4 separate regions of the Homo sapiens genome follow, and all the other regions are linked to region 4. Evidence: promoter capture Hi-C in 16 types of primary human blood cells and fetal thymus (Javierre and others, 2016). All regions are on one chromosome and are shown on one strand. Each heading gives the region's core, a stretch centred on a gene start or on the middle of the fragment in contact. The rest is flanking DNA. Distances are from core to core; before and after follow the strand shown. Region 1 overlaps PIP5K1B (phosphatidylinositol-4-phosphate 5-kinase type 1 beta). Region 2 overlaps PIP5K1B (phosphatidylinositol-4-phosphate 5-kinase type 1 beta). Region 3 overlaps PIP5K1B (phosphatidylinositol-4-phosphate 5-kinase type 1 beta). Region 4 holds the start of TMEM252 (transmembrane protein 252).

Region 1 (7,966 bases), core at 3,439-5,938, 260 kb after region 4:
TTTATTCCTTTTTAGGGAATTACTAAACCATTTGACCCTGAAAGATCAGATGAAATGGACATGGCTTATTAAGGAGTTGTTGTAACTACTTCTTGTCTCAATGACATACTATTTTCCTGTCTTGGATTTAATTGCTTAGAAATTATGGCTACAGATTCACAAAGAGATTGGAAGAAAGAATAGATAAAGAATATATAGTTCAAATTATCTGCTAAATTTTTTGTGCTGTTAGTAATTAATACTCCAAAATGTGATAAAGATCACTGTGCCCGTTTTGTTTTGTTTTGTTTTGTTTTGTTTTGTTTTAGCATTGGAAAAGCCTTGGGCTATACATTCTGAGATTTCAAACAAAGTAGATTTATAGTGGAAAGGAACCAGAGGTTTAGACTAAATAGATACGCTGTAAGAGAGCCATAATGATCTTATTTAAATATTTTCCACATTAAATAAGGCATGAGTACTGTTATGCTACTGCCTTTTTTTTAATAATTGAATTTGCATCCATGGTGGTTTTTTTTCATTCCCCGTGGAGTTCCACTTGATAGCCAATGTGAATATTTGAAGAAAATAATCTGTTGGAGCCCAGATTTGAATTAAACTTCCTCAAAGTATAATGAAAGTTTTGAGTTTGTCTTATAAGAAAGAAATTTTTGTTTATGCTTTAGAAGCTTAATTGATAGAAGTCTGGAGAGCAATAATTGGGGTGAATTTTTAAGATGGTTGTAAGATTGTTCACTTGGTAAATATTTCTTGAGCTCTTACTGTAGACACTGTGGACCAGTCATTGAACTGAATTAACTTTCACTCTAGTTCCTAATAGACATGTTAAGCTGCTGGCTTCATGGAGTTTACATTATAGTGAGAGGAAACAGACAAAAACAATAAAAGGTAGTTAGTAGTTAGTAAAATCATTGCCAATTACAATAAATGTTAGGAAGGAAATAAACAATGGGCTGAGAACTTGAACCACAGAGAAGCACCTGCTTTGGGTAGAGTGGCCAGGGAGAATCATCATGGGCAAGGGGGAGGCATGTGCATGCACTTGGGGAATTGAAAGGAGGCTGGTGAGCAAGAGGAAGCATAGCATCAGATAAGCATGGAGAGCTAGGCAGGCAACAGACCACACGGGGTCTTATAGGGCAAGATCAGAAGTCTAGATTTTATTCTAATGCCATAAGAAGACATTAAAGGGTTTTACACAAGGCCTAACCTGAACTGATTTCTTTTTTAAGACCATTATTGCCTTGTGGAGAATGGGAGCAGGAAGATCAAGTAGGAGGATGTTATATTAGTCTAGGCAAGAGATATTGGTGACTGGGCTGAGGTGTAGCAATTAGGATGGAGAACAAAAGATGGTTTTGAGAAATCAGCAAGATTTGGGAGAGGGCATACTAAGGAGAAAGAGAGAGAAATCAAGAATGACTGATTTTTGTAAATGAAGTTTACTGACTTGAGTAAAAATGGGAATGAAGTGACATTGAATGAGATGGGAAAGTTTGCAGGGGCAGAAATAAAGAGGTGTTTGAGTTTTGTTTAGGACCTATCTCTAATATGTTTTTGAGGATTCTAAAGGGAGCTGTCAGTTGGCTATATAAGTTCAAAGCTAGGGAAATCTGGATGCAGCTAAAATTATATTTGAGATAAGCACACCTTCCATCAATATGTTGGCTGTAATTTTAAAAAGCATTTGGAGTATACTTGAAAATACTGAAACTCTCTATCTGTAGTACATACCTTCTGTTCATCAGTGACTAATTTTAGGGTACACAACAGTTGTGCAAAAGAATGAAGTCCTCTTAGTTGCACTTCTTATCAAAATCCCAATGGTATTGTTTTATAGAAATAGAAAAAAATTAAATTCATATGGAACCACAAAGGAGCCCAAATAGCCAAAGCAATCTTGAGAAAGAAGAGCAAAGTTGAAGGCATCACACTTCCTAACTTCAAAATATATTACAAGCCACAGTAAACAAAAGAGTATGGCACTCTCATAAAAATAGACATATAGGCCAATAAAATAGAATAGAGGCCCCAGAAATGAACCCATACATATACAATCAATTGATCTTCAACGGGAGTGCTAAGAATACACAATAGGGAAAGATAGTACCTTCAACAAAGGGTGTTGGGAAAACTGGATATCCATATGTGAAAGAATGAAACTGGACTTTTATATCAGACGCAAAACCAACTCAAGATGGATGAATGACTTAAAAATAATACCTGAAACTGTGAAACTCCTAGGAGAAAAGCTAGGGGAAAGGCTTCATGACATTGGTTTTGGCAGCAATTTCCTGGATATGACACCAAAATCACAGGCAACAAGAGCAAAAGTGGACAGATAGGACTAGGACAATATCAAACTCAAGAGCAAAGGAAATGATCAACAGAATGAAAAGGCAACTCATGGAATGAGAGAAAATATTAACAAACTATACATCTGAAAAGGGGTTAATATTCAAAATATATAGGGAACCCCTACAACCCAATAGCAAAAGAAAAAATAAGGAGCCTGATTGAAAAATAGGCAAAGGACTTAAATAGATATTTTTCCAAAGAAAACATACATGAGCCTGGCCTTCCCATATCAGGTTCCTTAGAGAAACTGAAAATAGTGATGGTGAAGGGGCTGGTGGAGATACCTGTGGGCAGCAGGTGCCCGGTTTGGGCCAGTGAGTGAGGAGAAGCCTCACACACAGCATGTGGTATGTGGCTACCATTTTTTCTCTTGCTTAGGCCCTGCAAATGTTGGGGGTAGACCTTGCCTTTCGAATGCAATAGTCCTTGAGGTTTGTACCATGCTTTTCATCCAGCATCTAGACAGGGCCTGCACATGCACAGGTGTTTGTTAAATGGATGAGTAATCCAGTTTTCCTTGTTTTCTGTGGCATGGGGAAGAAACATGGGTTGCTTGAAGTACCTTGGGTTCAACAGACCTCACCATTTCCTTCTTACTGATGTAAGAAGGCCTTGAAGACCCATCCCAGTCAGTCATCCATGGATAGCATCTATGTCAAGAGGATGTCGGGCCTTTATGTGTGATTCTATAGTTAGTGCAGTGCACAATGGGGCTCCACTGAAGGGTAGATGGAGGCTGATTTCCAACCTGTTCTCAGCTGCCACGCTCTGTATCTGCTGTTGAAAAGGGGCCTTTTTCTTTGCAGGGTTAAGTCTGCCCAGAGGTGGTATCTTTTTCTCATTTTTCTGCAAGGGCATAGGCATTTGCTAAATCAGAAAGGTTGCCTTTTTGTCATTCAAACAAAGGTGTCCTAGGCTTCCCAAGGTCATATTTGGGTACCCTTGCTCCAAATTCTCCATGACTGTTAAGTTCTTGAGGAACTTGAGCTGTAAGCACTCCAAGTGTTGGAATACTTTGAGCAGTTGTCTCCCTGTGCTTGCATCTCTTCTCCCCCTCATATAGAAATCCCAGATAGGAAAAGTGTCGATCCAAGTTGCAGGCTTCCATGTCCATTCCTAGGGCTCTCAGGCCTCGCTGAGTCAGCACCTGCTACTACCACACAGGTGGATTGGTCCATAGATATTTTAACCCATTGCTCTGTTCCCAGATGCCCCTGCCTTCCTTCTGATAAGGCAAATTTAATTTGTGTGTGTGAGGAGGGGATGGAGAGGGTGCTTTGCTTGAGCCAGGATATAGTCCTTTATATTCTGCTGAAAATTCTCAAAGGAGGGCTATCCAAGGGAAAATAACAAGCCCGGGCATGAGAGAACTTAGAATTCCAGGGATACTTAGCGGTATTAACACTAGGAAAAGGGCACATTTTTTTTTTCATATTGGATTGCTAATAATCACAACAATGCTAAATACTTCCTGGATTTCTTTCAGTTGGGCTGAATTTAAGAAGTATAGGTTTATGCTGTTCCTTGATGCTGAGAAAAGAGGGTACATGTAATACTGAGACATCCGCACAGTGGTGGGTGTTGAGGCACCCTGCCAGGTGGGAGAGATTTGAAATATATTCCAAGACTAAAGATTTGGGATTTTTTTCGTACTTTCAAAACCACAGGGATTGACAGAGTTTAATAATAAGATTACAGAGTTACTCCTGTGAATATAATATACCACTTGAAAGAAGTACATTTGGTCAGGCTGGACGGAATCTCATCAAAGAGATAAGGGAAAGTCCGGAAGACACACCTGAGTATGGTCTGAAGCCAAAGAACAGCATGCTCCAAAACAAGCCCAATCTCAGGTTAAGAAGCCTTCATCATTTAGAGTGGCCACCACACGGACTCTCCTTGTTTTGTCTTTTGACTGTTAGGTTGAGTTCTGATGGAATGAATGATGGGGGTTTGCCCCAGCATATTAGCAGCGCATTTCGGCCCTTGTGCCAGTCTGGAAACAGGCGATAGAGAGTGAAGTCAGTGTGTTACCATCACAGAAAACAGCTTAGAAAAAGATACCCCACCAGATAAATAATGGGCATCTCTGGATGAGAAGATTGATGGCTCCTTTTATTTTCTTTGTGATTTTCTGTCTCTTTCTCATATTTCTAAAATAGATATGAGTTGCATTTATAATGATTTTTAAAGTTATTCCAAAAGAGAAACTATTCAAAGAAACTGAAACTTTATGGAATGAACCTGGAATAGCAAGAAAAGATATCTTATGGAAGTATTCGAAATACTAAATTGATAGCCATCCTTAGTTTTTCATGTCAGTTTGATGCTTGAACATTCCTTGATTATCCAGTGCTAAAAGGAGGAAGAAAACATTTATGAAGCATCTACTTAATGTGTAAGGACTTAAAAAATGAGACATCCTTTCTGAACTCAAGGTAGCTTATCTAAGAACAACAGAAATACGCATATATGCATTAAACTTTCCATTTTTGTGTCTATTCATGTGCCAGGCACTGTGATGGATAGAAAATGGATGGATGGATGGATGGATGGATGGATAGACAGAGGTTATTGCCCTCAAGGGGCCAATAGTGTACTAGAAAGAGAAGAAATTTAAACTGAGGATTACAATATAGTCAGTAAGTGTCACAATAGAGTTAGTCCCAGAGCACGTGAGTACAGAGAAGAAACGCTGCCCTTTGCCTCAGGAGGGGTAGGAGAGGATTCATACGAGGAAGTCATGCCTGAGCTGCATCTTGGAGGACAAAGAGCACTCAGCCTGAGAGTGAAGGGGATGTGCCAGGCATTGAAGTGTGTGCAAAGGTAAGATGCAAAGAGAACCACGCATTCTGAGAGCTGACAGTCATCCCATGTGGCTGCAGTTGTGTTGGGGTGAGCTGGGAGGAGATATGAGAGTCGTGAGAGGTCATACGCTGTGCCAAAACCTCTGAGGTTTGCCCTGAAGCAGTGGGAAGCCCTTGCAGGATTTTAAAGAAGGAGAGTGGTTAGACAGATTTGCATATAGAAAAGTCCCTTTAGCAATGTTGTTCACCAACAAGGCAGACTAATTAGGAGGCTAGGGCAGCAATCTGTGTTAGAAATGATGAGATCTCAATTAAGTTTGTATAAGGGAAAATGCAGAGAAAGACTCAGAGTCAAGGAACATCAAGGAGATTGATTGGAAAGAGCTTAATTGATAGGTTGTGGGGAGGATGTATTGAGGAGGAATTGGGATGGCCCCTTGATTTCAGGCTTGGACAACTGGGTGCTAATGGTGGCATTCTTTGAGCTGGATGGGATACGATAAACTGCAATTGAAGCATTTTAAATTTATAGTGCCTGCGAGATACTATAGAAACCCTAAAAGCAGCTGGGAATATAAATCTTGAGCTCAAGAAAGTCTGGGCTCAAAGAGTTATTTGGGAGTCATCACAAGTAGGTTGCAGTTAAACCCATTGGTGATGGAAGAGATTATTCAGAAGCAGTGAGAAGAAAAGAATTCGGAAGACCATGAGGAACAGGAACATTTAAGAAACAGTCAAAAAAGGTGGAAGCCTGCCAGAGAGCCCAAGAAAAAGTGTTCAGAGAAGTGGAGGAAAGCCAGGCATACCAGGAAGGGAAAACCAGGCATATATGGAGGCCCTGCTCATGCTGTCTCCCAAGTTCATCATCCGTGGAAGAAAGGGCAAAGAGCAAATGCCAAGTGGCAGACATGCACTTCCCAACTGAGTTTGCCTCTAACAAGTCTCTCTGGATGTAAATGTCTGTCGATACCTCACTGCTAGAATGTCTAGGAATACAAGTTTCTTGTTTGTTTAACTGGGAACATTACCTTCCTAAATAAAGCTATGATCCTGTTAATAAAGCACATGGGGAAAAGGGATTTGGGGTATTTGGGGTAGGCAAATGACAGTGTTGGCCACTTCAGGTAGCCAAGGGAAGAGGGACAGTCAGTGAAGGAGGACTGGTCATTCATCAGTTCAACACAGATTTGAGAGCCTGCTGTGTGCAAGGTATTCAGTGTCCGTGCTTCAGAGAAGTTGAGGAAGGTCATGAATGAAATGACTGCTTGGGTGAAGCAATGAGGAATCCACCTTTGAACTTGGGGTGGTTGTCCAGGAGGCCGGATTGCTGTGCCTCCATGAGCGTGTGGAGGGGTGGGGGTGAAGATGGAGAATGGACAACAGTCTTTTGAGGAGTTGACTTTGAGCATAAAGGGAGTGGGATGATGCCGCAGCCAGGAGGGAGCATCAAGGTGAAGAAGAGGTTTCAGGAGCCAGGAGGAAGGGTCTCAGGAAGGAGTTCACATGCTCATATTCTCAGGGTGAAGAGCCAGATGAGGGAAAGTAGTCGATTCAGGAAAAAGAGTATCTGATAAAGCTCCAGACAGGTATGTGTTGTGGGGAGCGGAGAACATACCTTAGCTGTGCATCAGAGAGGGACAAAGATGGGTATGGGCGTTCATAGTTTACAGGTGGGAAGGCAGGAAACAAAGGGCCCACCATTCCTCGGGGAGGCAGGGGGCAGGTAGCGGACTTAAGGAAATAAGCGAAGTCTTCAAATAGGCAGTATTAGCAGAGAGGTTAAGAGCCACTTTGGAACTGGACAGTCTGTGCATTCCCATCCTGGCTCCAACTGTATGACCTTGGGCAAGTTATTTATATATTTTATTCTTCTAGTTTTCAATTTTTTTTTTTTTTTTTTTGAGAGACAGGGTCTCACTCTGTCATTCAGGATGGAGCGCAGTGGCATGATCATAGCTCACTGCAGCTTTGAACTCCTGAGTTCAAGTGATCCTCCAGCCTTGACCTCCCAAAGCACTGGAACTACAGGTGTGCACCACTTCACCCAGCTAGAGGCAAGTTATTTAACCTCTCTGTTGCCTTCGTTTTCCTCTGCAACCAAGCAATGAGGATAATAACAGAAACCTGTTACTTGGAGTTGTTGGAAGAATTAAATGAGTTAATTCATGTAGTACTTGTCTGAGTGCCTGGCACAAAGGAGTGTTTCATATGCATTGGCTGTGATAATGATTATTTATAGGACAGAGAGCACATGCAGTCCAGGGTCACCTAAACGCCTAACTGGTCCAGAATGCAAGTGCGTTGGCTGAGGGCTGTGAGGGCACAGCAGATGAAGCATTGCATTCTTCAAGGAAGTCCTCAGGGGGAGGCATTTGAGATTGGCACAGCCCTGGAGAGGCTAGCTCAAGTAGAACAAACACTGTTGGTGCAGGCAAGAGGCTGTCAGAGCACCTGCCACATTTGCAGAGGAAGGAGCCCTCTGACACTTGAGAGGGAGCATGTGGGGCGCAGGGGGCCCTGTGTGTAGAGGCTCCTTCACCTCAAGGGTGGGAAGAATGGTGGAGGAGCGGCCAGAGATGAGGGTGAGCATCACACTTTGCAAGGCCTCGAATACCTGGAGTTTCTTCTGTAGCCACGAGAAGGTTGGGAGCAGGGCAATGAGGGTCCACTCTGTCCTGTGGTGCTCCTTCTGGTGAGAGTAGCTAAAAATAGTCATCACAATGCTGAGTGCAGGGACTGCGTATGGTGTGCCAGGAACATTGGAGTGCTGTAAATCTTGGACATTACTAACGACTGCCCTG
Region 2 (7,667 bases), core at 336-2,835, 310 kb after region 4:
TTTCACCACATTGCCCAGGCTGGTCTTGAACTCCTGAGCTCAAGCAATCCACCCACCTCGGCCTCCCAAAGTGCTGGGATTAAAGGCATGCGCCACCACGCCCAGCCTCATTTTTATCTGTAATGCGTGTATACAGACATGTATTTTTCAGTGTGTAGAGAAAAAAGCCCCAAACACACACTAAACAGTTGACAGTAGTTAACCCTCAAGAATAAGTGTGAGAAGGGCACATTGGTGTTTTACTTTCTGTAGTTAAGAGTTTTTTTTTAACTTTTTCTCAATGAGCATGGGCTACAATTTACCTTTCTAAATTGAGCAATGGTATCTTTATGGATATTTATCTTTCAGTCTGATATATTTTTGAGCCTATATTGTTTTTCAGGTAAAAAGCATTTGGTTATAGGTCCATAGGGTATATGCGCTTGGAATATAGATCAAAACAAGAACCAGAATGACCATGGCTTAAGCTAAGTTGAAGTTTATTTCTCACACGCATGAAGTGCAGAGGTCATTTACTTGCCTCTGCAGGGTATTCAGGGGCCTAGGTTTCTATCTTGTTTTTCTACCATTCTCAATGTATAGCTAACAAAAGCGATTAAAGAAGCCTACTTCATCTCTGTCCATCACATCTGTACACAGCACACCCCTTCCTGGTGAGGACGTGACCTAGGAGTCGGACACATCATTTCCTGTCCCAGCTCAATAGCCAGAAAATAGTAATGTGATGATACCTACCTAAAAGAGAACCAGGCAAAATACCCAGTTGAAATCCATTACTATATCACAAGGTTTCCGAACCTCAGCACTATTGACATTTGGGCTAGATAATTGTTTGTTGAGGGGGGCTGTTCTGTGCATTGTAGGATGTTTAGCACATCCCTGGCCTCTGTCCAATCAGTGCTAGGAGCACTGCCCAGGTGTGACAACCCAAATTGTCTCCAGACACAGCCAGATGTCCCTGAGGGTAAAGTCAAGCCTCTTGAAGAACAACTGCTAAGTAAGAAGAGAATAGATGCTGCAGACAACCAGTAACATCCGCTATAAGCATTGTGTTATTTCCCCCAAAACAGTGCTTAGCACTGAACTAATATATAACCTTTCAAATAACAAGTCCTCTACCAGGAAATCAAACATGCTAAGATTGTGTCAAATTTTATTTTGGTTGATTCTAGGATGAAAAGTCAATCCTGTCTTATTTTAATCTATTGAATCTAAATTGATATTTATATCAAATAAATAACAATTTTTATTTGAATACACAGACAAATGAAATATTCTTCCCTAGTGTGTAAGAATAGTATTAAGGATATTATACTGTGTTACATTTATAATGAATATCTCAGTTTAAAGTGTAATATTTCTGAAAGACTAATATAACAGCAAATATATACAGCAAATATAACAGCTCTATCCTAAATCAAGAATTTCATCTGCAGTTGATGGCCTGTCTCTTTTTAGGGCAATTAAGTGTCCATAATTTGATGCTGCTGTATTATGAATACTTTAAGAGTACAGTATTTTTCTGTTAATGAGGAGTGTTTACTTAACATGCTCTTCCTTTCCAATGAGGGAACATGCTTTGCTGCCAATCAAATTAAGGTGGAGATCATTTCAAAGAAACCATGAAACACTTTTTCTTTATTCTGCCTCTCCTATTAAATGTTGAGAAGCAAATCTTCTATCAAACAGATGGATATACTGGGATCTTGTTAAAAGGCTGCTTGATAAAAAGGGAAAGTTAAATATAAAGTGGATCTGTGTTGGGCTTCTTCCAAGGTTGTTTAGTGCCTAGTGTGTCAGAATAACCTTGTTATAAGGCAAATTCACCACATGGAGTGTTCGTGCCAGCCTAGGGAAGGCCATCATTTAATGGAACTCCAGTATTCTTATTTTTGAAAATGCAGATGCTGCAGAAATTATATCAGAAATGTCGTTGCCAATCATGAAAATAACAGAATACCCCAAAAGTCACGTATGAAATGATTCATACTGGGAGACGGGAGTAACCGGTTTTAGCTCCTGTAATGAACAGAGGCTGTGTAGAGGCATGATTGGTAAAGCTGGACCTGGAAGAGTGGGTAGGATACTGAAAAGAGAATGGAAAAGGACAGCATGGAAAGCCCAGAGATCAGTGGATGCAGAGACCAGAAATCACAAGGCAAGTTTAAGTGGGACAGTTTGGCTAAAGTGGTGGATTTGCATAGAGGCAAGAGGATCTCTGGCTTGTGGCCAAAACAGTAACTGGTCCACCAGAGTTTGTGCCCCCTCTTCCAAAGCACAGCTGGGTCTGGAAAGCAGCTGCAGAGCCGGCCCTCCTTGCATCTGAGCCAGGCCGTGTGGCTTATCCTTACTGGTGTGCTATGAATGAGTCATTGTCTGTAGGACCTGGGCAGTTAAAGGATGACACACTTAAATCGGATAATTTGGAAGGAATTTAAGAGGGACTCTTTTTATGAGAACACATGGACACAGGGAGGGGAACATCACACACCGGGGCCTATCGGCAGGTGAGGGGCAAGGGGAGGGAGAGCATTAGGACAAATACCAAATGCATGCAGGGCTTAAAACCTAGATGACAGGTTGATAGGTGTAGCAAACCACCATGGCACATGTATACCTATGTAACAAACCTGCATGTTCTGTACATGTATCCTAGAACTCAAAGTAAAATTTTAAAAAAGAAAAAAAGAAAGACTCTGTTTGCAAAGATGTGGGAGAAATGCAGGGAAACCATAAGGGGTAGTTCAGTGTCTTGAGGCAAAATGTACCTTGTTACCCGCCTCCCCCACACCGCCCCCCAAGCCATAAAAAGGTAAGAGAATGGCACTATTTCTAGATCCCAGAGTAGGAATCATCTGGAAAGATCCACAGAGAGGAGCTGTAACCTTTAGAAGGACACAACCAGACCGAGTCAAACCCTTAAGGAGGGAGGGATGGAAGTAAACACTTTGACCTCACTCTCAAACCTCCGTCCAGTCTTCTGCCATGGTGTCCCATTGGCCAAACCCAACTAGAAGCCAGAGGGAGCCCTTTGATGTGGCCTTACTGATGGTAACCCAGGGCACAGAGCAGGGTGAAGGAGGGTTGAGGGACAGGCCTGGGGTAGATATCCTGCACTGTCACTTCCTGGCAAAGGTAGGAAGAAGTGGATATTCTCTCACTTCTCCTATCAGCCAGCTGGACTGGGGGGATTTTACGATCCTAGGGGCTACTAGAGCTACAGGGATGCAGGAGCCAGGCTCTCTGAATCACCTGACAAAGGCAAGTGGATTATCATTCAGAGACACTCACTGTGGACTAGGTCCTATCAAAAAATAAACTTCTCTTGAATCAAGACATTGAATTTTAGGGGTGTGTTTTTTTTTATAGGACTTGGTATTTGAGGATTGATTTATTACAGCATTTAGCATTAACAGGAACTCAATTGTAGAAAGTTTTGAAGGCCAAGCAAAGAATTTGGATTCATTTCTACAGATGGTTAAAAATTAGTGGAGGCTTCTATGCTGGGAGGTGGTTTTAAAAGGAAAAACAGAAAGAGAGCCTTGGAATGATGAGTCTGGCAGTCACATGGCAGGTGGAATGGAACACAGTGAGCAATCCATTGATGCAGCTGGCCCAAACCCCATGTGATCAGCGGGACCTGTGAATCAGTCCCACACAATACAAGCTGAAGGGATGGAAGCATAATCATATTCCAAGTTCAGGTGCCAGCCTGCCATGTAGAACTTGGGGAAGGAGGTGGTCTAAGACCAGTTGAATGATCACCCCACTCTATGAAAGGGCCTGGCTGGCCCACTGTGAGATATGGAAGAGGAAATTTGGAAAGAGTTGTTGATATGTCATGAGTAACCCACATAAGGGAGAGGCTTGGGAGAGGGTCTGCCCACCATCTCAAGCCTAGAGAAGGGGGCTTCTGTGAGACCACTGAAGAGTGTGCTGTGTGCTCCCTGGAGCCTGGAGGATGCAATAGACTATAGTATTTTTCTGAAAAATCAGAAAGTTTTCAGAAGAGAAGTTTTGGTCAGCTGCTCTGATGACGGCAAAACCAAAAAAGGCTCCTTGGGGAGGGTGGGTGTTCCAGGCAAATGATATGTGACCATTGGAGGACACTGAGCTCTAGAGAGAGCTAATGTGGGGTCACCCCAGTCCTGTCTATGTGAAGACCTGGAAAAACAACAGGAAACTACCAGGCAGAGGAATGCAATAGCCATTTGCGGGGGAGAACTGCAGACCCCATGAGAGCACCTCACAAGAAAAAAAGATACATACCTGGACAGCCTTTTCAGTTCCTGGTACATTTTACAACTGTACTCTTCAAAAAACACCTTTCCTACCTCTTTTCTCCTCCCTCTAGCAACCAGTCAGAAAAGAGAAGAGAGGCTCCCAAGCCCCTCCCACTGCTGGAGGCCGGCTTGTGCCAGGCAAGCTGGGGGAAGAGAGAGATGGCTACCAAAAGCATATATAAGTTTTTATTATTATTATTATTATTATTATTAAGCTGGACTGTACATACCAGATGTCTAGATGAGACCATTTTTACAGATCTATGACTGGGAATAAACAGAAAACTTTTTTTTTTTTTTTTTTTTTGAGACAGGGTTTCATTCTGTCATCCAAGCTGAAATGCAGTGGCACAATCACAGCTCGCTACAACCTTTACCTCCTAGGCTCAAGCAATCCTCCTGCCTCAGCCTCCTGAGTAACTGGGACTACAGGTGCCGCCACCATGCCTGACCAATTTTTTGATTTTTTGTAGAGAAAAGGTCTTACTATGCGGCCCAGGCTGATCTCATACTCCTAGGCCCAGGTGATCCTCCTGCCCTGGCCTCTCAAAATGCTGGAATTACAGGTGCAAGCCACCATACCTGGACAGGACCTTTTATTCCAGAAGCCACCAGAAGGGTCATAGACCTGCCGTATATTTCATGCTGGGGCAGAAGAAAAATCTAACCCCAGAATACATTTAGAGGAACAGTGGGAGACAAAAATAAACTTGTTATGATTACATTTTATAAAAGCACAATCATTACATAGGTTTGTTGCATTAAGGCCTTGACCTAAAAGAAAAAGCTAAAAAGATGAGCAACTCCTAAACATGCCTTTGTCATGCCTCAAAATGTATTTTAAAACATAGTAGCAATACCTTCATTGGAGGACATTTCCATCCCAATATATAAAACATAAAATTTAGAAAACTTGGGAAGTACAAAACTTGAAAGCAAAAATCACCTAATATCCCGCTATCCAGAAATAATTGTACATTTTGGTATATTTCCTTCCTGTCTTATTTTCCTCCGTGGATATGTACACGTGTACTTGGTTTTTCTTGTTTAAATTTTATGATCTGTATTGTGTCCTGCTTTTTAAACTTAACATAGTATCTTATTTTTCTAAGTTAAGGATCACTTCTAAAATATGATTTAAGTGATGGCATAATTTGACGAGTCCATCAAATAATTTTGTCAAATATGCTAGATCCAGATTTAGGTTTATATATGAATTAACAATATGAATGAGAAAAATATAGAGAATTTGACTCATAGCTTTAGATATTCCATCAAGTTGTAGTATTTATATTATCAGATGAAAGAGCTACTTGTGGAGACGGTTGTCACCCCTTTCTTCAAACTCTCTTTTCTTGGTTTCAGTGAAGCCATATTTCCCTGATTTTCTTCTACTGTGTTAGTCACTCCTACGTCTCCTCCAAAGCTTTTCCTCCTTCCATCTATTTTCTAAATGTTGTTGTGGTTTAGGACTCTCCTTGGATACTCCCCTCTCTCTCTTGGTTTTCTCATTCAACCCCTTGGTTTTCAATATCATTTATATGCTAACAACTCTCAAAATGAAATATTCTCTCTAACCTCTATCCCAAGCTCCAGACTTGTATGTTAGCATCTCCAGTTGGATGTCTCATTAGCATCTCAAATGGAACTCTGAATCTCTGCTCCAAAATAGGTACCATCTTCAGTTTCCTCAGCTTGGTAAAGTGACTTCAGTCCTCTCAACTGCTGAAGGAAAATGCCAGGAGGCATTGCTGGTACTTTTCTGTCCCTTATTTCTAGTTTGCAGCAAATTCTGTCTCCCTCCCTCCAATATATCTCAAATCCACCTCCTCTGCCCATCCTCTCGTTCATCACCCTTCTCTAAGCCATCAGTATCTCTATATGAACCACTACAACTGCCCCCAATCACTTTCCTGCCTATAATCCCTCCAATGAAACTGGTTGTAGGACTATGGAAATGATACAGTTTGTGGGTAGGCAAACCTCCTCCTCTCTGAGAGGAAGTGGGACAACCTCTTGCTTCTGAGTTCTTCAAATCATTTCTCAAGTTCTTTCCTGTATTAATTTTCTATTGCTTCTATAACAAATTACTACAAGCTCAGTGGCTTAAATCAATGCAAACTTATTATCTTATAGTTCTGGAGGTCAAAAGTTCTAAAATCAAGGTGTTGACAAGGCTGCGTTCCTTCAGAGGCTCTAGCAGGGAATCAATTCCTGCTACGCTAAGTAGCAGCCAGAGTGAACCTTTTCAAATAAGAATGCTGTTCCCTCATTGAAACACATCAAACCATTAGGATGGCCTATAAGACCCAGATCTCAGTCTGTCCAGTCTTTCCAGCCTCCAGTTCTGGCACTTTCCCTGTTACCCGACTAATGAACTCATATGATTTGCTTTCAGGTCCCCGAACCTTACTGCTTCTCTATCCCTGGAAATCAACTCCCCTAATTTCCTAATGTGCTTTGTCTTTCCTCACCACACATAGTAATCCAAAATGTCAATTCCTTAAGGGCAAGACTCTGTTCAGGTCACCTTTATGTCCCCAGTTTGTACAAAGGACACAGCCAGTCTTTGTTGACACGACTTGTTGACTGGCCCATTCTCACTTTTCAGGTCTCAGCCTACAGATCATTCCTCAGAGAGACCTCTGAGACTCCATCATTCTTGAGTGGGTCTCCGCCCTTCTGACCTCAATTATTTCACGCTGTTCTTTCTGTCACTGACTTCATTTGTCTTTATGCATGTGTATCTTTGTCTGTTTAATGTCTCTTTCCCCCACTAGACTAGAAACTCCCATGAGAGCAAGAACCACGTCTCTTTTTCGGCTTATGCTTCGCACAATGCCTAAAATAATGCCTGGCTCATACTAAGTGCTCAGATCTTTGCTGGCAGAATGAACAGCCTCTGACTGAATGGGGTTCTGAGGGAACCTCTTCTCTCTGCTGGGGGCAACACGGGAAAAAATGCCAGGGTCAATCCTGAAGTAGAGGAGTGTGATCCACAGAATAATGGGACCCCAAAGAGATCTATGTCCTAATCCCTGGAACCTATTAAGAAGACATTGCCAATAACTTCACACACTTGGCAGGTGTGATTAAGTTAAAGATTTTGAGATAGGGAGATTATCTTAGATTATCCAGATGGGTCCATATAAAGCGAAGTGAGAAGATCAGAGTCACAGAAGATGTGATGAGAGAAGCAGAGGTCAGAGGGAGACAGAGATTTAACAATTCTGCTGGCTTTGAAGATGGAGGAAGAGGCCACAAGGAATGCGGGTGGACTCTAGGAACTGATTCCCCACCAGAGTCTCTGAAGGAACGCAGCCTTGTCAAAACCCTGATTTTAGGACTTCTGACCTCCAGAACTGTAAGATAATAAGTTTGCAT
Region 3 (7,633 bases), core at 1-2,500, 280 kb after region 4:
TTGCTGTTTGGCACGTGAATATTATCAAAGGCCTTTCCTTCTCCCAAGCAGTTGTAAGTTACTATCTTAGTTTCCAGTTGCTGCTATAACTAATTACTGCAAATTTAGTGGCTTAGACAACATACATGCATTATCTTATAGTTCAGTGAGTCAGAAGCCTGACATGGGTCTCCCTGGGCTGAGATCCATGTGTTTGCAGAGCTGTATTCCTTCCTGGACACTCCAGGGGAGAGTCCACTTCCTTGTCTTTTCCGGCTTCTAGAGGCTCCCTGCGTGCCCTGTGTCATGGCTCCCTGCCATCTTCAAAGCCAGCAATGGCCGGTGGCGTCTTTCCCAGGCTGTATCACTCTGACACTTTAAAGGGCCTGTGTGATTGCATTGAGCCCTCCTAGGCTCACAGAAATATGGGAAAATATTAATAAAAATTAATATTCTTTATCTAAAAGGTCAGCTGATTAGCAACGTTAATTTCCTCTGCAACTTGAATTCATTTTTGCCTTAGAAGGTGACATATTCACAGGTCCCAAGGATTAGAGCATGGGAATCTTTGGGGGTCAATTCACCATAATATAGAATATTGAGTGAAGAGAGTTGTTTGAAGACCCTTCTTATTCCTAAGAAGAAGGCTCCTGAGGGCATGCAGTGTTCTGTGTATAATATATGAATCCTTTAATGGACTCACTACTTTCCACCAACATTTAAAACATTTCCTACCTTTGTATTTTAAAACTTTTAAAATGTGAGATGCTCCTCTTCCCCACCTTTTCTAAGCCGCTCAGATTTTATGTCTTCAGCCCATTTCACAAAAAGTCTTTTTCCAGACTTCCTAATGTATCTTAACTTACCAGTCTTTGATAAATTCTCGACTCCCAGCTACCAAGCTAATGTTCAAACACGTTACTGGGTAAAATATGTTCCCAAGCACCTCTACTCCTGATTATAAATTGACTATACATTTTAGCTTTTCAAAGTTCTTGCTATTTTGCCCTCTTAAGAGTAGGAGGTTTGTGTATTGAAGGTTTATTATTTCTTAATTTTTCCTTTTATACTTTGATGGACAGCCTGCAAGACGTTTAGTCATAAAGTACATGAGCTATGGGCTCTGACCACATATTCAGGTCATGGAACTAGCATGATGTATTTTCTATTCCATTTTCATATGGGAGAATGTGCCCTTTTTCCTGGCATATCTTCTTTATCTGATTTTTCCACTCAGCCAAACCTTGAAATACAAACTGGGAGGTTGTCATTCAAAGTGATGGTGTGGTTGGAAAAGAGTTGGGTAAAGATTCAAGAGCTCAGAAGTGCCGCAGTATATTTTATAAAATTTGTACATTGGGCCAGAGGCAACAATACACTATTATTTATTTTTAGACACAAGTGAAAAACCAAATCCTGTCTCGTTTACCCAAGATTCCGTGTACATTCATTCAAGCATGGACCAACACAGAGATGATTACGTTGCTAGCCTGTTATTACTTCAGATCAGTTTCAGGTGGTATTCTCAATCAGCATCAAGATGCACTGAAATTCTTGACCAAATTCTGACTCACAGGAGATCCTTTGTCGCTGCAAAAGTTATAGAAAAAATGTGACCATGACATCTCAGAGTTTGCTAAGTGTACCCTGCCCAAGAATTTATTTAGTCAAGCAGGTTTTCAATAATTAGTATAGGTAATTCTATGATTAATGTCTCCAGTAGGATATTTAACTCAGCAATGTTTTTTAGGTTGTAAAAACTAAAAATCAAATTCTATGGTAGGAGAAATAAGGAAAGACACAGAAAACCTAAGGGGACCAGAAATTTTTTTTAATGAACAATTTTTTATGTGTAATAATATCAGGATCTTATTAATGATTTCTGGTTTTAAAAAGTATAAGCAATGGAAGGAGATGTACGTAGCCTCTCTTAAAAAGCACCAAGAAGACCAGCACAGCACTTAGAACTTCAGCCCTTAATAAATATGGTATTGATATGAATAGCAAGAAGAAGGAATCGCTTAGAGAGAGTGTTGTTTTACTGGCAGGTAAAAGCTCAGCTGAATTATTCGGTTTAGTTCTCTGATCTTCAAACTAGAGAAGGTGTTCATGGTGGACTTAGGAGTTAGCTATTGCAAATGTGTTTATCTCCAGGTCCAGATAAACCATTTCCCAGATGAAAGAACTTAAAGCTAGAATAGGAAAACCTCTGAATGTGAGCTTTAAATGAATTTCAGAATGGGAAAATTGTCAGAAAACAGGACATAAGCAAATATTATTCTTATTTTCAAAAATGAGGAAGAGTACATTCTGGAAACCAGATTATAAGTGAGACATTATTCCCCAGTATAATTTGAGCATTATTATTAAACATATGGTTTATACATATTTAGAGAAGAAACATATCTTTTACAAACCTGGAGAAATTCATAAAGATGTAGTTTATTTCAAACTAACTGCATTTCCTATTTTGAGAGAGTCATTAAATTACTCATAAAGAGTATGTTCAAATTTAATGAGTCTTGATTTAAAGGTGTCTAAAAGATTCGCTAGTCTCCTTTCAGACAAGGTGGATAAGTATGGGTTAAATATTATGTTTATTGTGTTTGTATCTGGTTGGACTGATGGTCTCGAAAACTGGCAATTTTGCTCCCTGTTCACTCGGTTTCCACCAGCATGATGCATGAGTTGGCCCTGGGTAGCTTACCATGTTCACCCATGACCTTAATGAAAGCATAAAAGCAGTGCTTTGCAAATGCAAATGACAAAAAAATTGTAAATGATAGCAAACAGACTACACAAGTGTTGTCAAGGCCACCATACATCTTATTCCCTTTACAAATACCTTAAATTTCTTTCCCAGTCCTGAAGCCCTGATCATAAGGTATGCACAGATTTACTAAGAAGCTTTGATGACCCATTGTGTTTTTGCATTGACTGAAGCCAGTCCATGGATCCCAGGTTAAGGCCCCTGGTCCTTTATGCTAGGAGTGAGAAATATACCACAGGAGTTTATAAGTAGCTCACAGTGGAGTGGGAGAGGCAAGACATGAAAACAGTTTTAGAACACAGTAGTCTATAATGAGGAGTTCAAAAGGGAAGAAACCAATGTTGTTAGAATTAAGCAGCAGGTTTAGGCTTTCTGTATGGAGCCCCAGATTTACTGGGCAGCTGCCAGTAACATTCAGCGTCATGAGTGCTATGATTTCCACGTGTTATTAGGGAACACTCAGTGTTCATGGGACAACTTTACACTTTGCGTCTCAGCTATTTGCATGTGATTATTGAGGCTGGCTGCCTTTTGTCTTGCAGTTGACCATTTCCTGAATCCATTCTCAGTTCTTGGCAAGCCCGGGAAGAACAGCTAACATTGGTCCGTGAGGTTAATAATGTCTTCAGCTAATGGCTAAAATAAGAAGTTTGATTTTAGCTGCATAAAACAAACAAGTTGCCCATTAAGACAGGCATTAAAGGCTGCCTGGCTATATTTACAGAGTGGAGTATTTCCATTATCAGTTAATTTATTGAGTGCTTTCCGCAAGAGTTGTAAATGCAGAAGCCTACTGGGGCCAGGCAGCAAAGAAGGGAGTGAGAAAACGAGGGGACCATGGTAAACAGAACCCACGCCTTCCTTAAAAGGGGCAGCAGGCAGTCAGCTCTAGCCAACAGAGCTATGAATGAATGCTCGCCCAGGGTTGCCAGATACTCTGATGTTTTTCAAGAAAAGAGAGATGAAGATTTTGATATGAAATCTGCCATTTTTAAATAACAGCAACTAATTCAAATGTTTTTAAAAATACACTCTGGGCAAAACAGTTTGCCTGCAGGCCCTATCTGTCCCGTAGGCAGTGGCCAGTTTACAACCTCTGACCTCCCTGTTGGTGTAAAAAAGTGAGAAGAAAAAAGGAGGATGCAAAAGAAGTGTAAGAACTTGTCTCTGCCTCCCCTGACCTTACAACTTATTTGGGAGAAAAAAGAGGGACCCACATGAAAAAATTAAATCTTGACCCAAATCGGTGTTGAGTAAGTGCCAAGACAAGTGGTATTTCTCTTTTATTTTTATTTTTTTGAGATGGAGTCTCACTCTATCGCCCAGGCTGGAGTGCAGTGGCACAATCTTGGCTCACTGCAACCTCTGCCTCCCGGGTTCAAGCGATTCTCCTGCCTCAGCCTCCCGAGTAGCTGGGACTACAGGTGCATGCCGCCACGCCTGGCTAATTTTTTGTATTTTAGTTGAGATGGGGTTTCACCATGTTGCCCAGACTGATCTCGAACTCCTGAGCTCAGGCAATCGACCCACCTCGGCCTCCCAGAGTGCTGGGATTACAGGTGTGAGCCACTGGGCCCGGCCAAAAATTCCACTTTTTAAGTGACTGTGCATTCTGATTTACCTACGTGTTTGTCTTGATGTCAGGGAGTCCAATGAGCACAGGCACAGAAACAGGGAGGAGCATGATTTGTTGGCATTACAGGAGAGGCTGGCCTGGACAAAGCTAAGTGGTGGTGTCTGGGGAAAGTAGTAGGCAGTTTTGGAAGTATGGGCTGGCTCTAAATGACAGCTACCCTTGGGTGCTGGTTTGAGGTGTTTGGATTTTATGTTCTAGGCCAGTGTTGTTCAACGGAACTTCCCGCAATGATGGAAATGTTCTATAATTTGCACCAATGCGGTAGCCACAAGCTATGTGTGGCTATAGGGCATTTGAAATGTGGCCAGTGTGTCTGAGAACTGTAATTTTTAATCTTAATTTTAGTTAAATTTAAACTTAAATAAGCACACGTGGCTGATGACTGCCATGCTGGGGAGTGCAGTTTTCAGGCGGTGATGTACTGTAACATTGTTGTAGGGGCTAGTGACAAATGAAAGGCCTGTGCAAAGCCAGTGGCAGAGCACAAGTTGTACAGGGTTGAGGGAGATGACACGGGAAGGCTTTTGTGTTAGTTGAGCAACAAAGTTGGGTGCAAAGTTGAGTAGGAAAAGATGTGGGGAATATTTTTGAAAAGAAAATTACATTTCCAATCAGTGCGACTACCAGAAGTTTTCTGCCATTGGTGGAACTAGGGAAGTTTGGGAAAGAGTATTGTGTTATTTTGGGATTTTGTTTGTTTGTTGTTTAAAAAGGCAAGAGACCTAAAAGGAAGCAGGAGGCGCAGGGCACGAGTTTACTTGAAAGAGGATGGTCTCAATGCAAGTCAAATACTGATGCTAGACATTCAAGTTTTGTCTGTTTTATATGTGAAGAAATGACCCAGCCCCACCTCTCCAAAACAAACAGATGTCAGGGTGGTTCAGTGACATATGCCAGGTTACCTTGCAGTTCTTTGTTAGGAAGATGATTAGAAGCTCCAGTCACATGATGTCCCATGTTGTCATTTGTCCGTTGGACTGGGTCAGTGTTTCCCAACACCAGGGCCTTGACTGTCATGGGAAACGTGCACTGCCATTTGCCTTTCTTCTTGTCTCACCTCTTCACCCTGAGGTTGTCGTTCTAGGCCCCTCACCCCTTCCTCTTCTGTTTCTCCTGCCTTTCTGGGCCTGCCCACAATAGGCCTCCACTGGGAGATTCTGGTTTTGATGACCGCAGGCTGCCGTGGGGTCAGAGGCCACCTGCCTGTGGCACCGAGGCCTCGCCTACAGTGTGCAGAGTCTTTTTAGCTGGTTTTCACTGTGACGGGCACACGTGCTCACAGCATTCAGAAAGCTCCATTGGGAAACTGACCAGACCAGGACACCTACAGGATCCTTGACCCAAATGCCCAGTTTTTTTCACTTTGTTTTATCTTTGAAGACCTTGGTTGTTGCTTCATTCCAGTGTCTGAGACAGTTTCCTATCAGTGGAGGCAGGCAGCGGTGAGGAAGGAGGAAATAGTACCTGACCGTGACCACATTCCAAGGAAAGATGCCTTTTATTGCTTTTTCACCATGAGTAAGATAATAGCTCAGAGACACTTTGATCTAAAAGGAAGTATTTCTTTAAATACAGGGTCTTTTATAAAATGTTTCTGACAGCTGGTAACACTGTCTGTCTCCAGGGAGAACCGGGTAGTAGGGTCCTTAGTTGGTGGGAAACTTCTCTGTGTAAACCTTTCTATGGCCGAGCATGGTGGCTCGGTGGCTCTATGGCTGGGCACGGTGGATTATGCCTGTAATCCCAGCACTTCGGGAGGCCGAGATGGGTGGATCACCTGAGGTCAGAAGTTGGAGACCAGCCTGGCCAACATGGTGAAACCCCATCTCTACTAAAAATACAAAAATTTGCTGGGCACGGTGGTGCAAGCCTGTGATCCCAGCTGCTTGGGAGGCTGACACAGGAGAATCACTTGAGCCTGGAAGGCAGAGGTTGCAGTGAGCCGAGATCACGCCACTGCACTCCAGCCTGGGCGACAGAGCAAGACTCTGGCTCAAAAAATAAGTAAATAATACATCTTTCTATGCATATTTAATTTTGAACTATGTGAAGGTAATACCAGTTCAAAAATTGAACAAATAACGTTTCAGGATTTTGGAGGGAAGAGGGGCTGGAGTGTGTTCTCTGTCCTGACCATTCTTCTTTTCCTTCAGATTCTGGAAAGCCACCACTTCCATAAAACAAGCAAACTCGTTTGTGCTAAGCAGCAGTTGTCATGAATAGCAGCTATGCTGGTCTCTAGGATGAATGACCCTTTGGTATTCTAAGTGTGATTCCTAATCCACCTTAATCCAAAATACCCTAACCTGCTGGTTCTCAACCAGCAATTCTGCCTCCACCCCCCAGGAAGATTTGGCAATATCTGGACATATTTTTAGTTGTTACAAAGTGAGGGCTGGCGCTACTGGCTTCTAGGAGATAGAGGTCAAGGATGCTGCGTCTTATGATGCAGAGGATGGACCCCCAAAACAAAGAATTATCTAAACGTTGTTAGTGCCAAGGCTGAGAAGCCTTGTTCAAATCAAACTACCCTTTTTAAGAGGAGGGCGGATGTGAGTCCAGCTCTTCCAGATACTGGTTGATAACTGTAGGCATTTTTCCTAGTTGTTGTGAACCTTAATTTTTCTCATTGATAAAATGTAATTAATTAATATCTACCCAAGCTGGCTTATAGTGCTGTGAGGATCAAACAGTTTAACAGACTTGAGCAAATACTGGGAAAAGTAGCATACTAATGAGTGAAGTCACTGTTTTGATGAGCAAGAATGCAGTCCCTGAGCCTCTGATTTCCAGATTAGTTCTATGGGGACGGAGCACTGGATTCCCGGGGAGAAGGGTTACTTAGTCTCCTGGGGGTAGCTGCAGTCAAGCCTGGGCATGGGAGGTGAGCTGACAGTACTGGGGCATGATGCTGTATGCGTCCCAACAGCAACAGGTGTTTAAAATCAGAGAGAAAGATGTGCTCTTACTAGTAAACGGGTGCCGCTGTGCTGAAGCCTAGGCAACAGAGCAAGACCCCATCTCAAAAAAAAAAATAGTAAACTGCTGTTGTGTTTTTAAAAATTAAGCAGCAAGGAGGTGAGCTGCATCATTTACAGAGGGAACATTTTTTAAATAATTCCGTTACACTTAGAAGCATGTGTAATCATATCACGTTACCATGCACCCCCCGCCCTGTCAGATCACCCCTCCAAACACTTGTGCTTCTGTCTCCTTCCTCACTAAGTACTAAAGCAGGTGATTGCAAG
Region 4 (7,559 bases), core at 4,736-7,235:
GTTTGGGTTTGCAGAAAGATCAACTCATTCTGACACTGTGTTAGTTTAACCAGAGAATAATACTTTGACTTATGGTCTTTTATTGATTTTTTTTTCTGATGCAAAAAAAAAATGGCAAAAGAGAAATTTAAGTACAAAATTTATTGCGGTAAAGAGATTAAAACTATTTCTTATGTAAACCAAAATCAACATTTGTTTCACTTGACTACCAGTAGTTGGAAAAACTATCTATTACAAATGCAAATTCTGGACAAAAGACCAATGATGGTCCTTGTTCAAGTCAGTAAATGTGCTCAGACCACCAGGGAGAATTTCAGGATAACTGTCTTAGTAGAGAGATAGAAAGAGATGACAAGAGGAATAATAAATTACATTACTAATAAATGATCACTTCCCTATTGGACAACCATGAGTGACCTTCATATCTTTATGCCCTCAATGCCAAGGATTCAAATAACAGATTCCCAAATTCATGCTTCATGGACAAGGATTTCCTTTTATGAAGCTTCTTATGCATTTTTCAGGATATACTTAATCTATGCATTCAGCAATGATGGAGAAGATGAGGCCACAGAGGAGGCTCCATCCCATCTGGACCACCCTCTTCCTCTTTGAAAGATGTACATCCTTCTCACCAACTGTCTAAAGCCCTTCCTGTGCCCATTCACCAAGGGCTATCTCCATTGGGAATCATTCTTCATCATCAATATAATGATCAGGGGGAAACTCTGCTATGAGGCAAGGGACCAGTTTCTAGGCAGAAAACCTGGAGGACATTTTACGTATTTTAAAAGAAGCCGATTAACCCTAAAGCAATCTCTGCCACTTCTCCAAGGGCTTTAAGATATTGCAGCAACCCTGGGGCTCCATTTTCTGTTACAGCCCATTTTCTGAAGGGAGAGAGAAATCCAAACTGTCTCCTAGAAGGAGAGAAGTTAGACAGGGCTACCTAGCTCAAAAGTGTGAAGTCAGTCAGTCCTCCCATGTTCCTCTAGGAACCGTTCTTCACCCTCCTAGAAGTCATTGTGTTATTGGAAAAGTTTCTTAACTTCTCACAATGTCAGTTTTATGCATATGTAAAATGGGAATAATCATAATGCCTGTCTCTTAAAGATGGAATGAGGGCTAACACGCATGGAAAGCTCATGGCACAGAGCCTGCCATATAACAGGCATTCCACAACTGTGAAGCCAGCATGAATGCCTCACTTAATAGAGGAGAAAACTGAGGCCCGGAGAGATGAAGATTCTTGGCCCAAGTTCAAAAGCATCAGGCTGCATCTCTGTCTACCACCCTGCAACCAGACTTGTCCTCTTGTATTTAAAAAAACAATAAAATATAATAAAGTTGAGGAGAAACCATCGGATTTAAAAATGAATGTCCTAAGTCTAAAAGTCAAGATCTGTATCTTGAGACACAAGAAATTTCCTGTTAATGATGAACGTACATCATTAGAGTTTCTTATCTTTCAAATTCTAGAGATTTATATGGGGATTCTTTGAATTACATACAAATATTTTTAACCTTTATAAGATTTATATCAAGTGGTATATTAATACCATCTGTGGCCAGTACAAATTCCACCCTACACCCCGGAATTCCATGTATTATGAATTAAGTATTCTGTCTATTCCATTTGGGTCTATAAGCATTCTTATCATGTCTATTTGTTTAAGGACCTCTTTTAAGAAACAGCTCATTTAATATTTTGTGTTTGAACCATCTTGAAGGCAAATATTACAGTCATTTTCCTTTTACATAGAAAAAATACATATCATGAAAATAAAATAATACAAAATAACATTCATGGGTTCCGAGGGCATATCTCCCAGGATGTGAAGTACTGCCTCACTCTGGTAGTATGGTCAGCTGGAGGTAACTAGGAAACAAGCTAACAAAACAAAAGGCTGAACAATCAATAAATTAAACAACAAACCTTCGCTTTGAGATTACTAGGTGATATAGAACAGGAAGGCATGTGGCTGTCCTGACAACCAGCATCTATTCCTCCCTGGCTGGAGTTGAGGTGATGGGAGGGAAATTGAGTGACAGCAGAAAGAATCTCTGTAAGCAGAGCTCTCAGAGTGACACCTTTGGGGACCCAAGGCCAGCCGGGGTTAAGATTAGTGTGAATGCTCTGAAATGTCTGCTTGGTGTTGGCCACACCCTTCCAGGGCCCCTGGCCTGCCCTGCCCTGGCATGGCCAGTTATGTCTGGAATTCAGGGCTGTCATCCCCTCCCCAAGCTCTCTTGTGGGGTCCCTGGTGTGGCTTTTCCTCCCACAGTCCCTCGTTTGCCTTTATTATCAGTAGCTGCTCCCCACAGTGGTGGCATCATGAGTGCTGGAGAGCTTTCTCTGCCTCAGCACTCTTGGCCTCGCCTCTGGGCGTCCTCTGAGATTGCTGTCACCACCAGGCCGGCTATGGACTCTCTATAAGATGGTGGGGCCTCTGGGTGGGAGTCATTTCCATCCTGGAATTCCAGGCCCGTCTCTGTATATAGAGGTGGAGGAATGCCAGAGGCCTCTCTCTCTGCAGGACAGCTCTGCTTTTCCACCTCAAGGCTCTCTTCATAAGCTGGAGGGTAAAAGTCTGGCCTAGGGGACAAAACAGCATAAACATGCGTGCGTTATTTAGGCATTAATGCCAAAGAGGCAGACGGCTGCCTCTCTCAGCTCAAATTGTGCGAAGCTAAACTGTTAAGAAACATGGATTTTTGAAACAGATGTACTTCTTCCTGGCATCACCAGTTTTTTAAAAATGTGCTGCTCTTCCAAAAGAACCTTTTTATCAGCCACAGGATGCCTGCCTCTAGTCACATTTTTTTCCCAGTGGGTTATGCCAAGCTATTCCTTCTCTATTGCTCATTCACTCATGAAAACAGGGCCATTCAGTGTGAGATCCTTGTCAACATTAGAGGAGGTGGGGGCTTTGGATAGGGAACTTCTCTCTACCGAGTACTTAGTCCATCCACATCCTTGCTCCCTTTCTCGCATGGCATCATCCCCTCAATTGCACTCACTTTCTCTGATCATCACAGCCAACAAAATAATGAATGAAAACCAACTCTGTGCTGATCCCTGAACTATACCAGATGCCATGTCTCTATCCTAACACCCTTTCGAGACTCAGTAGCTAGTTTCAAAGAAAATATACAAACATATTCATTTCTCAAATGATATCAACTGACAACTTTACACAGATTTCAGTTGTAGCCCTTTCTATGCCAGTAGGCTAAAGCAGCCATTCATTCGGGGGCTGATGTACTCATTGGTCATCTTGCCTGGCATTTCTAATTGCTAAATCCTCCTGGCTTCTCCATCATGAATGAATTTGGGGGAAGGGGAGAGGGGAGGAAGAGAGACCGGTGAGCTTGGCTGAGTTGTGTATTTATAGAGTGATCCTTCCAGTGCCTACAGGGAGTGTTTATGGTGTGTAACCACAACAGAACAGGGACTGCCATTTGTAGCCACAACTCCATTCCAAATGTTACCAGGCCCAAAGCCAGTAGCTGAAGAAGCTGTCTACTATAAGGCATAAATCTCAGCCTTCGCTCAGAATAGCCAAGGCTGAGTCACGGGGCACATGTGTAAAGGCATTTTACACAGAAAGGTGAGATGTTCCCTGGAGTGATGTGAAAGGTTCCAGGATGACTGCTGCCTGCCCCAAATCCCAGCTACCTCTCCCAACCCCACCCTCCTTCAACTGCCATCCATATTCCCAGTCCCCTGAATTCCATCATCGGAGACCCATTTGCTTTGATATCTCAACCTGGGTATCCATTTTGAGTGCAAATGCTTTGGAGAAATGTGACTTCCCAGGCTGACTTGCCAGCCATTCTGCGTGGGATAAGCATCTTATTACATGCAGCGAGAAGAGGCAGTAAAATGGGGGTGTTACGATGTCCATAATTTACTTTCAAACATTTCAGTATACTGTAATATTATGCAGTGTTAGTCAATTTAAGCTATATCCTAAAGGCAATCAGTTACATTTATCAGAAATTCACACTCTAGAGGTAGTCCTCTAACATTTATACAAAAAGAAATCATCACTCTAGAGGCATCTTCTACAATCACTTCATTTCTCTTAATTTTTAATCAAACCCAGAAACTCTGCTGGTTAGTATAACATTGGAAATAAGTTTTGGTTTTCATAATTATTATCTTATTAATTAGCATAAAGGATGCCAAAAGTGGATGCTCATGGGTAAGATTACTTATATTCAAGATACATGGAGTAGCTAAAATATTTTAGATACTTTCTACTCTTGCACGAAGAGGGCAAAATAATTATAGTCTTGTAGCCTGTATCTTGAGAATGATGCCTAGGGTGTTATCCCTAAATGGTCCTGTGGCTAGCCAAGAATTAGGAGGTTTCTTGTTGCCTGATACTGACTATAAGATTAACTGAATCTTTTTTTTCTTGTGGTAAAATATATATGACATAAAATTTACTGTTTTTAAGTGTATAGCTCAGTGGCACTAAATACACTCATATTGCTCTACAACCATCACCTTAAAACTCTCTACTCATTAAACAATAGGTCCCCAGTCTCTCCTTCCACCAGCCCCTGGGACCACTGTTCTACTTTCTGTGTCTGTGAATTTGACTACGCTAAGTACTCATGTAAGTGGAATTATACAATATTTGCCCTTTGTAACTGACTTGTTTCACTTAGCATAATGTTTTCAACTTCATCCAAGTGGTGGCATGTGCCAGGATTTCCTTCCTTTTTAAGGCTAATATTCCATTGCATGTATATACCACATTTTGTTTATCTACTCACCTGTTGATGGACATTTGGGCTATTATGAATAAATGTTGCTACAAGCATTGGTGTACAAACATCCATTTGAATCCCTGCTTTCAGTTCCTTTGTGTATAAACTCAGAATGTAGAATTGCCAGATCAAACAGTAATTCAATATTTAATGTATAGAGGAGTCTCCACACTGTTTTCCACAGTGGTTGCACCATTTTAACATTCCCACCAGCAATGCACAGCGTTCCAATTTATTGACATCCTCACCAACACTAGCTGTTTGGTTTTGTTTTTTGATGATAACTATCCTAATGTATGAGATGGCGAGAAAGAATGAATCTTGCCTCTAGAATATTATCACCTTCCCCTGAAGGAATGTTTTATGCAAGGTGAGATCACAACACCTAAAAGGACAGTAAACTGGGACTTTTCTGAGCTCACAGAGATTCCAGGACTCATTTTATGCCTGCTTCTTCATTTGTTGTGTGGCAGAATTTGGTCTGGGACTTGCTTTCCTTAGAACCTCATAGCCAGGTTATGGGAAGTAACTAACCATCACCTGCCACTAATTAATGACAGCTGCCATGATATAACAAAAGAGCCTGGGTTTCTAAATTGGCTTAGGTGGGTTTTCACTGGGGGTGGTGGTAGGGTTTCTCTGAGATGAGTTGCCCCTGCGTCATGGTTTTCCCCAAAGATGGCGCCACTCTTCCTAATAACAACCCCAGAGTAATTCCCTGACAATAAAGCTTTGGTTCTAGACAGACAGCCCATGGGACATGTAAGTCGCTCCATAGTAGGATCAGAAATTACTCAGATCTTACACAACTCAGCCCATCTCAGCCCTTCTTGGTCCCTCTGCCTGTCAGCACGTACCTGTCTACTGTGGCCACGGGCAGGGCCCCATGAGCAAGGTGTTGTCGGAGCATGTGCCTCAACACTCCTTTGCTTTCAGTCACCTGGCGATAGTTGCTCCAGAAAATTCCACTCAGAAGGATCACAAACCCCAGAGGCAGAAGCAAATAGGCCGCAATCAGGCTCCCCTGACAGTCGAATATGGAGCCCCAGGAAATGAAGAAGGCCCCCAGGCAGACCATCAGGAAACCCATCAGGAGGGCAAGAGCACAGAGAATGAGGCCAGTTCTGTTCTGCATCCTTGCACCTTAGGAACCCAGCACCCTGACCCTGCTGCTCCTCTGCTTCCCTGCTTGCTCCAAGAGAATGAGCTCATTAGCCAGCTTGCAGCTTTATATGCTCTGGGACCCACTGGCCTTTGGACAACTAAATGAAACAGGCACTTAGAAGCTATTCATTAACCATTGAAAGTAAGTGTAATATCCTTGGAGAATTAGCCAAAAAACATAGCATTGTATACTGCAGGCAGGAGTGGCTTCGTGTAGCTGTTTTGTTCTTCAGAGTTGGGTGGGACACTCAGCTGTTCCCAGTTATTTGAACGTACAGCCCTCCTTTGATTAAAAGGCGCTGGTCTCTTAATCCCCATGGAGGGCAATTCCCCACTAAAAGCTGGAGAAGTTAGCACTCTTTAAAGAACGATCTTCTTTGAGGTTTGGTAAGAAATCCCTTCCTGATTCCTTCTCCCTTTTTCTGTACTAAAAAGGCATTTCTTCAAGGCTGTTAACATGTTTGTCTTGCCTCCCTCAATGAATCCCCACTTATTGCCCCCACACTATGATACTGGCATAATTCCAAGACAGAAGTTCAGAGTGTGAACTTCGTGGTTCCTGCTCTGTTGACAAGATCGAAAGAGCCTGAGTGGGAGGGAAAGGAGAGTGCTGGAGAAAAGGACTATAATAGACAGAGCCTCGGGAATTTGGGGGGATTTTGGGCCTGTAATTCCTGCAATCTTTCCCCCTTTCATAAAGTACATATGAAATAGAATTCGTTTTAGAGGATGCTGCTAAAAATGTTCCCTGTCCTCTCCTCCACACCTCTGCTCTATGTAGCATTGCCTCAAAAAATCTTTCCAGAACCAGCCTTCTGTTTCCTGGCTGGAATTTGTTTTCTTTAGCTTGACTGTCTTTGATTGTGGATAGCTTATTTCAGACGTGCTTTATGCCCTGGCTCTGCCCTTTTTTATTTGATAATGTGGCATGTCTCTGCCAAAAGTCTCCTTCCCATAGGAACCCTGGGTTGCTTTTACTCAGGATAGCTTATCTTCAGTTCCTCTTTGCTGCTGTTCCACTCCACTACTCCATTACCATTATTTTCCATTTACTTTCCCAATGAGAGCAGCAGTTTTTTGTGGCGTGCCCTAATAATCCCTCATATAACCTTTAGTCTCACACTCACCATCTCCTTAGCTCTACCTTCATGTTAGGGCTGGGAGACACGGATATTAGAGAGGTACACACTATGGATCAAAAACTATATAAGGCACTTCTCCATTCCAACCCTTAGCCTTTACCTTTCTTAGCTTCAATTTCGACCTTGAACTACCTTGATCTTCTAGTCTTGATATTGTCTTTGTAATCTTAAAACAGCTCTTATTCCCTCCTTCCCCAAACTGTGAGATGGAATATTTCTAAGATGATCCCTAAGGATCCCACCTCCTGATATTCATGTCCTTGTGTAAGTAATCCTCTCCCCTGAGTGTAGGCTGGACCTAGTGACTTCATTCTAATCAATAGAATATGGTAACGGTGATCGGAAGTTACTTCCGTGGAGGCTACACAAGATTGTGGTTTTCATCTTTCTAGCAGACTCTCTCTATTGTCCTCTTGGCTTACGCCCTTTGAAGAAGGAAGCTGCCATATTGGAGAGGCCCATGAGGCAAGG

Evidence for each region. Contacts are between HindIII fragments. The CHiCAGO score rates a contact against its expected background, and 5 or more counts as called.
Region 1: a fragment that was not itself captured here is called in contact with the fragment with the promoter of TMEM252 in region 4 in 2 of 17 cell types (neutrophils and total B cells); the score reaches 7.1 in neutrophils.
Region 2: a fragment that was not itself captured here is called in contact with the fragment with the promoter of TMEM252 in region 4 in 3 of 17 cell types (neutrophils, naive B cells and total B cells); the score reaches 8.3 in neutrophils.
Region 3: a fragment that was not itself captured here is called in contact with the fragment with the promoter of TMEM252 in region 4 in 3 of 17 cell types (neutrophils, naive B cells and endothelial precursors); the score reaches 6.8 in neutrophils.

Annotation. Positions count from the first base shown.
Region 1 is chr9:68,797,542-68,805,507 of GRCh38, forward strand. All of the region lies in intron 2 of PIP5K1B (phosphatidylinositol-4-phosphate 5-kinase type 1 beta), which reads left to right. Among named protein-coding and RNA genes, the nearest start is that of PABIR1, 21 kb to the left of the region's middle. The HindIII fragment of the contact is 8,045 bases long and covers 667-7,966 here.
Region 2 is chr9:68,849,559-68,857,225 of GRCh38, forward strand. All of the region lies in intron 4 of PIP5K1B (phosphatidylinositol-4-phosphate 5-kinase type 1 beta), which reads left to right. Among named protein-coding and RNA genes, the nearest start is that of PABIR1, 73 kb to the left of the region's middle. The HindIII fragment of the contact is 8,244 bases long and covers 1-5,707 here.
Region 3 is chr9:68,822,722-68,830,354 of GRCh38, forward strand. The region is part of intron 4 of PIP5K1B (phosphatidylinositol-4-phosphate 5-kinase type 1 beta); the gene reads left to right. Among named protein-coding and RNA genes, the nearest start is that of PABIR1, 46 kb to the left of the region's middle. RefSeq lists an enhancer at 2,794-3,295. The HindIII fragment of the contact is 3,268 bases long and covers 1-2,884 here.
Region 4 is chr9:68,534,898-68,542,456 of GRCh38, forward strand. It overlaps TMEM252 (transmembrane protein 252), which reads right to left and starts at 5,986. Exons shown (of 2, transcript NM_153237.2): 1 at 5,640-5,986; 2 at 1,683-2,596. The coding sequence starts at 5,917. The coding sequence ends at 2,362. TMEM252-DT (TMEM252 divergent transcript) reads left to right here and starts at 6,128. Exons shown (of 5, transcript NR_187592.1): 1 at 6,128-6,333; 2 at 7,481-7,559. The HindIII fragment of the contact is 3,743 bases long and covers 5,511-7,559 here.